Linked DNA regions of Homo sapiens: all the other regions are linked to region 1. Evidence: promoter capture Hi-C in 16 types of primary human blood cells and fetal thymus (Javierre and others, 2016). All regions are on one chromosome and are shown on one strand. Each heading gives the region's core, a stretch centred on a gene start or on the middle of the fragment in contact. The rest is flanking DNA. Distances are from core to core; before and after follow the strand shown. Region 1 holds the start of TMTC4 (transmembrane O-mannosyltransferase targeting cadherins 4). Region 2 holds the start of DNAJC3 (DnaJ heat shock protein family (Hsp40) member C3). Region 3 holds the start of MBNL2 (muscleblind like splicing regulator 2).

Region 1 (3,890 bases), core at 951-3,450:
AAAACTGACTAAAATCTCATCTGCTTTTTATTTCCACCTATATATACAACCATATGTGTGTTATAAATGTTTCTGATATAAAGGATGTGTAATAAACAATACACAAGTAAAAGGCAGACACTCTTTATTGTCAGTTCTATCTACTTGACTGATTCTCACAGAAAGCTTTGCTTCTTTTTTGCCAAAGGCTTGTATCTGAATCCATCCAATGCTTGTAACTCAACCATGATGTGACTAGTGAAATTACATACCGATCCACTTTTTGCCAACAAATTTATTGTCCTTAAATCTGATATGTGATCTGTTAAACTACTTCTTACCCTTGTATAAACTCATTAAACTGCAATCTTGTTTCAGCACTAAACACATTTTTAAGTTTAATCTACATTATTAACATCTTCCCCATCACTTTCTGAAGTCTAGAGACAATCAGCAAAACAAATCGATCCCTGATTCATGATTCATAATGTTGGCTAATTTCCATGGTGTAAATACTTCGACCATGGCCCATTACAGTCTACCAACGAGACATCACTGAGTGTGGGCCGGGAAAACGCACGTGCAGTAAGCACATTATGATACGTAATACTGGAAATGGTAGGAAGTGGACAGACTTCAGAGTTATTTAGGAAGTAGAATCTTGGCGATTTGTTAGATGCCGAGGTGAAGGCAGAGTTTGGGAAACACTGGATAGTGGTGTCTTCACTATCACAGGGAGACAGGGAGTTGAAAGCAAGCAGGGAAAGGACGCATTCAGTTTTGGATGGGTTCCATTTGAGGTGCTTGTTACCAGGAGTAGCTGAATAGGAAGCTAGATAAACGGATTTGGAGCTCAGAGGAGCAAAGATTAGAGTTGCAAATTTGGGATATATTGATTTAAATGTTGACAGCAGGTTAAATCATTCAGGGAAAAATTGTGGAGTAAGAGGAAAGGTCTGAGACCTTGAAAACTCTGTTATTTGGTGGTCACCCAGAGTAGACAAGCACGCCAAGACTGGGGACAGACAGGAAAGTGGAGCACCCCCGCCACAGGAAGACGTGTTTTAAGGAGAAAGAAGGAATTTTGCTCAGATCAGTTAACACGAGAAAGGAGAGTGTCCTTTGACTTTAGTGATGTGGATGCTACTTGCGACAATTAAAAAGGCAATTTCACCGAGTGTGAAAACGAACACGTGGAGTTGAGAGACCACAAAACTGGGGGCAGGCGCCTCTTTCACCAACTTCAGCGATGGAAAGTAGAAGAGGGTGGCAGCAAGGGTACGTGGAGTAGAGAATCTTGGAATGATGAAATGCCGAGGATACGGATTCCAGTCCAGAGGGAGCAACGGATCGGATTCTGCGATACTGGAAAAACAGAAGGTGGGGGGGGGGGCTCGGTGATGGAGGGAGCAGGTGTGCAGTTTTGCCGGTGGAAAGTGGAAGTTTCTCTTTTCTCCTGAAGCAGGCGGCAAAGACCTCTGAGAGTGGGAGTGTGGTGGGTGTGCCGGGCCCCTGGATGGGAGTGGAGGTTTGGAACCAAGTGGCCCGAGCCTGCGGTGAGTGGGCCCGCCCTGGGTGGCTCTGGCCGCAGCAGGGTCGATGGGGCGGCATGGTCTCGGCGGGAAGAACACGGCTTCAGTCAGTTCTGTTCTAAGAAGCAGAAGGTGGAGATACGCATGTTTTAAACAACTCCTCCCGGACAGGAAGAAGTGGAGTTCTGGCTGTTCTGCGAGGACGCCGCAGTCCCAGCGTGGAGACCACCGCGCAGGCGAAGCGCGAGACAGGCCAGAAATAGGGTCCCGCGCGCGGACCCCGGAGGAAAAGCGAGGGCTCACTCGGTTTCCCGCAGCCAGCCTCGCCCGACCCAGCTGGGGCCGCCCCTTCCCGCCCCGGCCCCGCCTCCGCCTCAGCTCCGCGCCCACAACCCGGCTTCCTCCTCTCCCGCCGGGTCCGTCTGTCCCTGCGCCTCCTTCGCCGCCGACTAGCGCCCCCTGGCCTGACGTCACCGGCGCGTCCGCCAATGAGCTGAGGAGGGACTTGGCTGTGGCCTGAAAGTGACGGGAGCAGCAGCCAATGGTCGGGCGGAGGGGGCGGGCCGAGACTGGTGCTGGGGGGCGCCCGCGCGCGTGGGGAGCTGCGGGAGGCGCGGCGCGGGGGGGGTCGGGTGCGCGGCGGGCGGCCCCTCCCCCTGCCAGGTCCGGGCGGGTGCCTGGAGCCGCCAGAGTTTCCGCACCCGGGAGGGAGATGCGGCCGGGGCTCAGGCTCCTTGCAGGTAACGCGCGGGGCGGCCCCTGCAGGGCCGAGCGCGCCGCGGGGCGAGCGGAGTTGGACGCGGAGCGGGCGCGGGTTCCCCGCTGCCGCCGTGTCCCGAGCCCCGCACGGCGGCCCGGGCCAGAGCGGCGCTGCTGGAGGAGTTGGTTCCGGGACCTGAGCTGCGGCCCGGGCCGGGGTCACGGGGGACGCGGGCCCCTGTGTGAGCCGCACATGGGACAAAGGGCGCGGCGTGGAGGCTGCGCGCCCCGCCCGCCGCGCTCGGGCCCCTGAGCTTCTCCGCCCGGGCAGAGGTCGCCGCCCCCAGCCCCTGCCTGCACAGCCGCGCCGGCGCTCCCTCGGCCCGGGCGCACCCGGCGCCTGCGGCGCGTCCCCGGAGCGGCCATCTGGCCGCGGGGCCCCGCGCCTGGCCGCCAGCTGGCCGCGGCGCAGGCGATGGCTGGACACAGCCGGGCCGCTTGGCCGCCTGCCCTGGGTTCCGCGGCGGCTCCCCCGCCGCGCCGCGAGCGCCTGCTACTCCACGCTCGGCTGCGGAGCGGAGCGGCGCGAGCGCGGGGCCACCGGCCCGGGCGCCCGGGGCCACCGAGCCGCCGCTTCCCGGCGTGGGCTCGGAGTTTGGGGAAGCCGAGCAGGTGGCGCAGCCACTGCCCACCTCCTGCGAACTCTGCGGGGCTTCTGGTCTTGTTGATGTTGTGGCTATGGGCTGCGTGTGTGTTTTTCTTTTTTTTAAACCACACACAAAAGAAGGGAGGAGTTAGAGGAACGATCTAGCCACTATGAGTCATCCCACACTTCGCTCTTTCCCCGGGAGAGCAAATAAATGCATGGGGAGAATGTCTTGAGAAACAGTTATAGTAGGGACTGACTAGGTCCCCTCCCTGTCCCTTTTCTCTGCAGTCCTGTCTGCGCCGGGCGCGCCCCAGATGGAGTGGGGTAAAATCACGGCCAGTGCACCTAGATAGGGGAAATGGCTACAAGCTAGCAAACTGGAAACTTTCTGGGACAGTGGAACTGTGAATATCAAACCACACACATTCTTGCTATAGGCAGCCATGGCCCTCGTGCGCTACTGAATTATAAAATGGGAAGGCCGTCACAGCAGGACGATACCTTAGCCTTCAGTAGCATGTATTCAGCACTGCACGGAGGAGGGCGGTGGTGGTGGCTCGCGCCCCTGCCTTGAGGGGCCCAGGGTCTGATCAGTCAGGAAACTGCCAGGCCCAGGGATGCAGGGTCACAAACGATTGTGTTCTCTAATCTGATTCCCAGAGGCGCTGTCACCTCTCAGCGTGCATAGGATGGCTGGCTATGTGATTGAATGTTACAGATGAGGTAGAAAGGCTGGGCAGAGGTCAGCAGGCCCCTGGATGCATGGAGGGGAATATTCTTCTGTAGGTGGCTGCTGCTAATTTTTCCAAGGGGAAACATTTAGGTTTGGTCTCGCCATTCTGTTTACCGCAGTCCAGGCTGCCGTGTCAGCTGTCATTGGGCCCTCATGGTTCACAGCTGGATGACATTTGTTTTTCTGGGGTCCCTGTGTGGGGTCTTTTTGGCCTTCTCACTGATGATTAATTTGTTTTAACCTCCTGAAAACAGAGGCTCGATATGAGAAGTTTGAGAAATTGTAGGATAAAGGGACG
Region 2 (3,890 bases), core at 648-3,147, 5.0 Mb after region 1:
TTTCGTGAATAAGATATGGCTTACAGAAAGGCTCCTTTCTTTCCTTTTTCTGTTACCTGTACTAAGTCCCTGCTATTTTACACAGACAATGGTCCTAAAGAAGACACTCTGGCACTCCTCTGAGAAATGTCACCAGTGCCTCCTACACAGAAAAGCTCTCAAATGTGGTTTTCTTATGGAAAATACCACAGGAGGGAAATGAAGAGTTAAGAGTCCTTACAGACTCATATACAGAACAGCAATTCTAAAAAGTAGTGGGAAAAGCAATCATTCAAAATTGTGCATCTCTGTAACTTAAAAAAAAAAATCACCATTAAACAGAACATAGGCAACTTTCTCTTAAGTGTCCAAAATAAATTATTAATGATAACTGGAGATAAATACTACAGATGAGGGATGGTGGGGTGCGGGGGCAGGAGGAATGAAGCTTTTGAAAATGCAAAAGAACTAGAATATATGACCCATATTAAAGTGGTACAGACCTTCAAATTCCAATCCCCTAGATTTTTCTGGGGGCAGCCTCACTGTCAAATTCTTTGTCCCAATGTTGCCACACTACGTGTTCTGATTTGGGGTTCAAAAAATATGGTTACCAGGGGAAGCAAAAGCAAAAGCCCATTGCTATGGGTGACACCTAAAAACTGGGGAGTACTACTTTAAAAAAAAAAGTTGAGAACTTTCAGAAGAATTCACTATAAACAATTCCCAATTTTTAGTTCCTCGCTCCCTTTGAATGGAATACTCAAAGGTTTAATTTGACCTCCTTGACAACTAGCCCTTTTTATGGGGATGAAAATAGATCAGTGCATGTGATGTGTCATTACACTCGAATATTTCGCACAGTAACCGCGCCAGAAGCATTCGTTAAATCGGCACTATCAACTTTAATTCTTACTCCTCCCCGCTGCCATCTAAGATAGGACAGCCCTCTATTTTCGCTATTCTGGAGTAGCCAACATTCCAGTCTGCAGGACTGAAGTGAAATTTAATCGTTCGTATCTTTTTAAGGGAACCTTTTTACAGCGAACTTGGAAAAGTAATGCCAGCCATACGTTGAATGACACCATGTTGGGAGTTGTAAAACCACAAACTCAGTGCCTGGCCGTCCGGGAGATGGAATTCCAACAGCGGCTCCTCATTGCACCAAACTAACAATTTCTCTACACGACAGTGCATCTTAATGGGGATGGTTACACACTTTTTAAATAGTCAACACTGTCCCCTCCAACTCCCAGCCGGACATGACACTCCTTCCCCACCCAAGAACTCCAGAGCGAAGGAAGTCTTTTGGCCACCTTAGTGCCTCCTCCCAGCCAGCACCAATGACTGACAGTGTCCCCAGGCGCCCAGCGAGGGTCCCAAGCGAGGCCAGGACCCAAAGGCTGCCCAAGTCTCCGCGTCCCAGGACTTCCTGAAGTCGTAGCCCGGTGCCCCCGCACCCCGCCTCCTCCGACTCCTGCGGCCCGGTTCCTTAGTCCAAACCCGCTGTCCCGGCCCCGCGGCCCGCCAGTCCCCTCGATTCTTCCCCAGACAAACCCGGAACCGGGCGCGGGCTCAGGCCCAAGCCAGGCCGCGGGCTCCCCCAGCGCTCGCCCCACCTCCCGAGCCGCTCCGGGACAGGCGCCCGGGCGCAGACGGGAAAGCGCGGGGGGCCTGGTCCGGGAGCCCACTTCCTGGCCGGGGCAGGGCAGGACTCACCTTCGTACTGCAGATCCACCAGGACTAGCAGGAAGGGGAATACCGAGCCCAGCCGGCTGGTCACGGAGCCGGGGGCCACCATGTCCGAGGGCTCGCGAGTGAAGAGGAGGAAAGGTGTGTGGCCCACCAGCACGCGCCGGCGCTCCGGCAGCAGCTGCGCCCGCCCGCCGTCGGCTCTCGCTCAGGCCTCAGTGGCTCTGGAGCCCAGCAGAGGAAGGCAGCGGTGGGCGGGGCCCGGGCGACGCTACGCCCCAGAGCGCCGCCGCCATCCAATCGCCTTCTTTCTGGCGGCTTTCCTCCCGGGCTCGCCGGGGTCGTGGTTCGCGCTGATAGGCTGCGGAGGCCGCCGCCCCGCCCCGTCCCTGATAGGATAACGTGGAAGCACGAGACGAGGCTGCGCCCGCCGGTCGCAGAGCTGTCAGCAAGCTCCAAACCGCGGCTGCCGCCCGGAGGGAAGCAGACGGGGAGTCGGTGGCGGCCGCCGAGTCCGCATGCGCAGGCTGCAAAGGCCCTTTTGGGCCGGTCCCGCCGCGCTAGGTTGGCGAGTGGGACTATTTGATCCTTTCCAGGTTCGCCAGCGTGGTGTTACGAGAGGAAAGCGCAGCCGCAGCGTACGAATGGGAAGGCCAAACACGGTCCCGGGGAGTCTGAGGGAAGCTGCAGGGCGCCTGGAATTGGGGTCTCGAGTGAGCCGGTAAAAACCGCCTCCCGCTGAGCGTCCCGGAACAAATACTGTCTGAACTGAGCCGTAAGCAAGAAACGGTCAGGAGAAGCTGGGGCGATCTGATGATTAGAACATTTCAGGGACTACCAGAGAGAAGTGCGTAATTGCTCTAAGGCAGGTAGGTAATTGGCCTGGAAACTTGGGAACGCCCCGCCCCCCACCCCGACTTTCAGCAAACCACCGTGCCCAGGAAAAAGAGCGATTGTGGAAGACCCTGTGAAGAAGAGACCAGGAAGGCACTGTGGCTTAAGAGAGCAAGGCGTTCCTGAATGCAGCCAACATCAACTGGTAAACAAAAAACTGTGAGAACGGATCCTGAATCTTGCGCTTACCAGGGGAAATTCAGGAGAGATATGAACCTGAGCAAGATGAGGTTGAAGTTACTCAATGCGGCATTAAGCCTGTTCACGGCCACTTCCTCCGGCGTCACCAACACACACACTGTACACCAGCAGTATTTTTACACGGGGTATGTGTGTTAAGTACTATCAGGTGGATAATTATTACTTCACCTGTATTTGCTGCCTTGATACCATTAGAGAAACTCATGAATTATAAATAGCATAGTGAATTTGTGATTCCCTGAAGATATACTAAGGTGGACTTTTAAAAAGGCTTCTATTCCAAAGGGAACTAATATGGAGGAAATGGTTTCGAGAAAGAAAAAAGAAAAAACGGAGTCCTTGATTAGTTGTGGGGAAGGCAACATAATGTAATGTGAAGAATAAAGGAGTCAGATCCAGGAAACCCCATAACTATTATGTAAGTTATCTTCATCTGTAAAGTGGTTAGGATCCTGATAGTCTCAAAGGTTTGTTTTGAGGTTTCATGAAGCAGATAAATATTCTTGTAAATTGTAGAATGTTATACCAGTGTTACTCATTATTCTAACAAGAGCAGAGTAGTGAAGAGAGGCTCCTTCAGAAATTCCTTGGGATTTTTTTTTTTTTGGCTTCTGTTTTTTTATATCACAAGGTAGTGTCTCTGAAAAATGGTAGATGATTTCAATGTCCACAAATATGCAGGTGTAGACATTCAATTGAGGTACTGTACCCAAGGCAGCCAGCAAAATGCTGAACATAGAAAATAACTTTGTAAACAAAATGCAATATTTCTAGACAGTGAGTTATCACCAGTGTGCTGCCTATGACCCTGGCCTTAAGGAAAAAGTAGCAGAGCTGAAGAAGTTCTAAGGATGGAAATTAAAAATTATTAAGGAGATAATAGACTTCGTGTTATAGGAAATAAAAATAGCAAGGGTCTTCAATGGTGAGTGATTTTGAGATTAATTACATAACTATGAATTCTGTAATATTAGAACTAAGCTTTACAAAGCATTCCTTAAAAAAAGATAATTTTACAACAAAGGTAACATTAGACAGAAAAAAATGTACAAAACTAAAATTAAGTGATTAATGCTTGGGAATGTTTCCTCCAATGTTCATCTAGTCATGGTTTTCACGAATCA
Region 3 (3,890 bases), core at 1,391-3,890, 3.5 Mb after region 1:
TCAAAGGAAAAACAGCATTAAATGTTTTGGGCACTACAAGGCCTGTGGCCAGAATAGTGTGCTTTGCAGAGCTTCTAGTATATTAGATTAGATCGATGGAAAAAATGCAAACAACAACGCTTTGATTTCCTTGGAAATTTCATTTGTTGAACTAAGAAAAAGTATCCCTAAAAAATTTACATGAGCACAAAGTAGAGTGAAGGGTTTTGTGTATATGACTATGTATCTTAATACTCTAAGGTGTTTGCCAACAGTTTCTTAATACCGAGGTTTTATCCCTTTGTACTTTAAATAGCTCAATGTGCCAAGAGACAAACAACTTTTTTTTTTTTTTTTTTTTTTTTGGTAAAAGGTCAAGGTCTCAAAATGCTAAATGATGAGGGAAAGTGTAGCAAGTATGATTCAATTCTATTAAAAGACAGAAAAATCAAGGTAGGCACTTGCTCAAAACTACGTGAGTAGTCAGAGAGGAGACACAAATTAGCTTTGGGAACTCCCGAGAACTCCAATGTGCTCCAGTCAAAATCTTTTTTAAAAGGTTCCTTTGTAAACATTACCCTTCCCCCGATCTCTGTGACCAAGGTTGCCACCTGTGACATGGATTTGCAGCCTGCAGTATTGTACTTCCCCTGCTTGGGGCCATCTGTGCTAGGACATGATGATTTTTCTATGAAAGCAGCTGTTCTCACCATCACAACCAGCCTTGAACTTGGTGGCACAACCTGGATCCTAAATAGTGGCTCTGGAGCAACTGGGAATAGGGCCCCGGGGACCATCCACCCAGGTGGCAGCGCTGGGCTGCACCAAGGGGGAGTCAGGCCAGAAAAAAAGCTTTGCCCTGCTCCCTGCTGCTTTTTGCCAGCCCAGCCAGAAGCCCTGCAGAAAACCTGTGCTGACCGGCCCGACATGTGGCAGGTACAAGAAGATGCCCTATTTATGAGGGGACAGGTTTACAATTTACAAAAGACAGGCGAAAATATAAAGACATAACTTAAGTCCTGCCAGTGGGGAGTTAGAATGTTCCTGGCCAGGACATAAAGAAATATTCCTCTCCACAAGCTCGAATAAAGGAACACACAGCAGAAATAGTTGGGGGATGACGTCAGAAGTTCTGGGCTAGTGTCCTGCACTTCTCCTTGAAAGTAAAAACAGTGGGTCTAGAAGAATCTACGTGGCATTGCCCTTATTTAAATGAGTAGTTCTACTGCTCCTTGCAAAACAAGTAGGATAGCTGAAGAAACTTCCTCTTATTTAAAGATTATAAGAATGTTCCCCCTGCCTTTTTTAAAAACCTTATTGTCCCCAAAACACACACATTACCCAATTAACAAATAGCTTTCCACTTAACCTTTGTCTTTTAAAGGGACAGTAATGTTTCTTGTAGAACATTCAAGGTGGTGGTGGTTAGGCAAGTCAGATTTTTTTCTTCGCTTCAGTGCTTGCTAACTATTCTAAAAATGTTACACATTTATTGTAAACACATGCTTCCGAGGCCTAACAAAAAAGCACAGTTTCCTCATGCCTGGCAGAAATTTAAAACGGAAAAGGGCAGAAAGAATTCTTTAGCAAATATATCCTTTCCTTCTCCTGGGCCAAGTGTGTTAAAAATAAATCTTCTCCATCATTTCTCACTGCTGCTTCTCAGCGAGAAAGTTGATATGGTTCGGCATAGTGAAAACACAGCTTTAAAAGCTAGCCTGCCCTCATTAAATTATTCTGCTGGCTGTGTGTTCTCATTAAAAATGCATAAAGATCAGATAATTGCAGTAAGCATTATTAACCCAGCTTTACTTTTGAATATAATGGTTCCACTTTTAAGCTGGAAACAAAGGCTCAGACATGCCAGGAAAAGAAATGTAAACATTGAACTACAGTATCGAAAACTTGCCAGAAAGCTACCTCTTGCTAGGTTGTTTAAAATGTGCTTTTGAAACTCAATTAAAGCTGTAGCATTGTAGAGCTAGGTAGGTCCCTAATTTTTAATAAATAGACACATACGTTTGGCCAAACATTCAACCGATGATTATTTACCATGAATTTTTTTTTAATCCTTAATTGCAAGTCTGTTTTCAAATAATAGGATCCATGTAAACTTTATCTATTTGGGAACTAGCTATGGCAATATAACAATTTTTCACAGCAAGAAAATAAGATTGCTCCAAAGAATTCAAATGGTTTTTAAAAAATAATATAATAAATGAATCGATTCTTTGCATAAAAACTCGATTTCTTGCCTCACCCCAAACAGGCGGCATAGATTCAAGCTTTGCCATTTCTTTTTCTCAAATCAAAATGTTACGTAAAACTCCAGGGTCCCCCGCAAGTATTACAATTGAATTAGTGGAATCCAGTTTCCCTGGCTCCCGTAAGCAGCACACATGGAATGCAGCATACTGCAGCAAACTCTTTAAACATTCAAAAAAGGGGGGCGATTCTCCTACCTTGTTTAGCTCTGCCTGTCCTTCCCATTTACAGTAACCCCAGGAACATCTGGCAGAACCAAGTGGCCGAGGCTTCTCCACCGCATCATGAGAAAGAAACTTCCATGTAAATAGTTCTCATTCCCTGTTTATTGTACTCTGAAAGCCGTCTGCCGTATCTGGAAAATTTTACCTTCAGATGATGAAGCAAAGACAGTCTAAACTCTGTTGCTGTAAGCTGCAGCCCTTCCTTCCGACAAATCCCTCCCAGCCGGGGCCAGCCAATCCCCAGCCAGCTCGTCAGCCCTACTCGTCTGAAACTGGCCCTAATAGGATGACTGACACAGTAACACAGCACTTGCAGTGTGTAAAAACAGTGCATCCATACTGATGAAAGAGGAATTTCCCTCTCAGAAGAAAGCAATCATAGCACCAAGACAAAGTGGCACATAATTGGCAGAGCAGAGAGAGGGGTAGCTCAAGAAAACACCCTTGAAGACAGCCAGCTCGAAGCCAGGAGCTTCACCGTGAACACTTGGGAAAATGTGAAACTCCGCAGATTCCAAAGAAATCCAGGTTGTACATGAAACTGAAGTCCTTGGACTATCTGACAAAGCATATGTATATGTTTTTTAAAGGAAAAATAATTCAACGTCTGCCATGGCAGTTAATACCTTACAAAACATTTACATATTTCCATTATTGAGGAAGAATGTGCTAGCCCAAGTGCGTATTCAAAATCAAAACATGCTTATAGCTCTGGCACACACAGGTTTCCTGTATAACATCTGTTATTGCAGTGGTTAATTACTGCGGCCCATTTATCTTTCGTCTAAGTTTTCAGACCACTTGGGACTTCGATTAGGGAATGCTGGACAATAAAATTGATATCTATACACTACCCTTTTCTACTCTTGGCAGGCACCCACGAGAGGATTAGGTGTGCTTTAACCATCTTAGATGCCATTTGATAAATACTGTGCATTGGCTCACATTATCGTTAATGAAGCAATGATTATAGGAAGATGTTTACTGTTGAATACAAGGGGTACATGATCCAAGGGCCCCCATGAGGTGCCATTCCACAAAAGATGTTCTAGGAGGTGCTGGAGTTTCCTGAGATAAAGCAGAAGAAGAGAAAGTTTAGGAAGGGTTATTTATTTATTTATTTATTTATTTATTTCCCAGTCTACAGCATTTCTGTATGCCTTGAAAACAAAAACTCAAAAACATATGGCATTGAGCAAACACAACAAGCATACATTTTCCTCCCCTAAATACCACATTTTGAGAAAAAAAAAGTATGATGATTACATGATGAGACCAAGACAGAACAAAGCCTTTATTCATCTGAAAGGTTGAACCCAATGCACGATTTTTATAAGCAACTGTTCAGCGCATCTGTAATGAAGCAACAGAATGCAATGGAATGCTTTCTTTTTATTTTGCCATTGCATCTTAAAAACATAA

Evidence for each region. The method cuts DNA at HindIII sites, captures the fragments that hold promoters and counts their contacts. A CHiCAGO score of 5 or more calls a contact.
Region 2: the fragment with the promoter of DNAJC3 here is called in contact with the fragment with the promoter of TMTC4 in region 1 in 1 of 17 cell types (total B cells); the score reaches 5.2 in total B cells.
Region 3: the fragment with the promoter of MBNL2 here is called in contact with the fragment with the promoter of TMTC4 in region 1 in 1 of 17 cell types (activated CD4 T cells); the score reaches 6.4 in activated CD4 T cells.

The regions. Positions count from the first base shown.
Region 1 is chr13:100,673,105-100,676,994 of GRCh38, reverse strand. It overlaps TMTC4 (transmembrane O-mannosyltransferase targeting cadherins 4), which reads left to right and starts at 2,200. Exons shown (of 19, transcript NM_032813.5): 1 at 2,200-2,251. RefSeq lists enhancers at 1,530-1,609, 2,935-3,824 and silencers at 1,800-2,299, 2,330-2,689, 2,740-2,819. The HindIII fragment of the contact is 7,703 bases long and covers 168-3,890 here.
Region 2 is chr13:95,675,146-95,679,035 of GRCh38, reverse strand. DNAJC3 (DnaJ heat shock protein family (Hsp40) member C3) reads right to left here and starts at 1,897. Exons shown (of 12, transcript NM_006260.5): 1 at 1,699-1,897. The coding sequence starts at 1,780. DNAJC3-DT (DNAJC3 divergent transcript) reads left to right here and starts at 2,111. Exons shown (of 2, transcript NR_132117.1): 1 at 2,111-3,184. RefSeq lists silencers at 1,517-1,606, 1,837-2,076 and enhancers at 1,717-1,766, 1,113-1,959, 2,597-2,696, 1,960-2,807. The HindIII fragment of the contact is 3,320 bases long and covers 430-3,749 here.
Region 3 is chr13:97,221,083-97,224,972 of GRCh38, reverse strand. MBNL2 (muscleblind like splicing regulator 2) reads right to left here and starts at 2,640. Exons shown (of 9, transcript NM_001382683.1): 1 at 2,442-2,640. RefSeq lists an enhancer at 2,559-2,618. The HindIII fragment of the contact is 4,024 bases long and covers 2,267-3,890 here.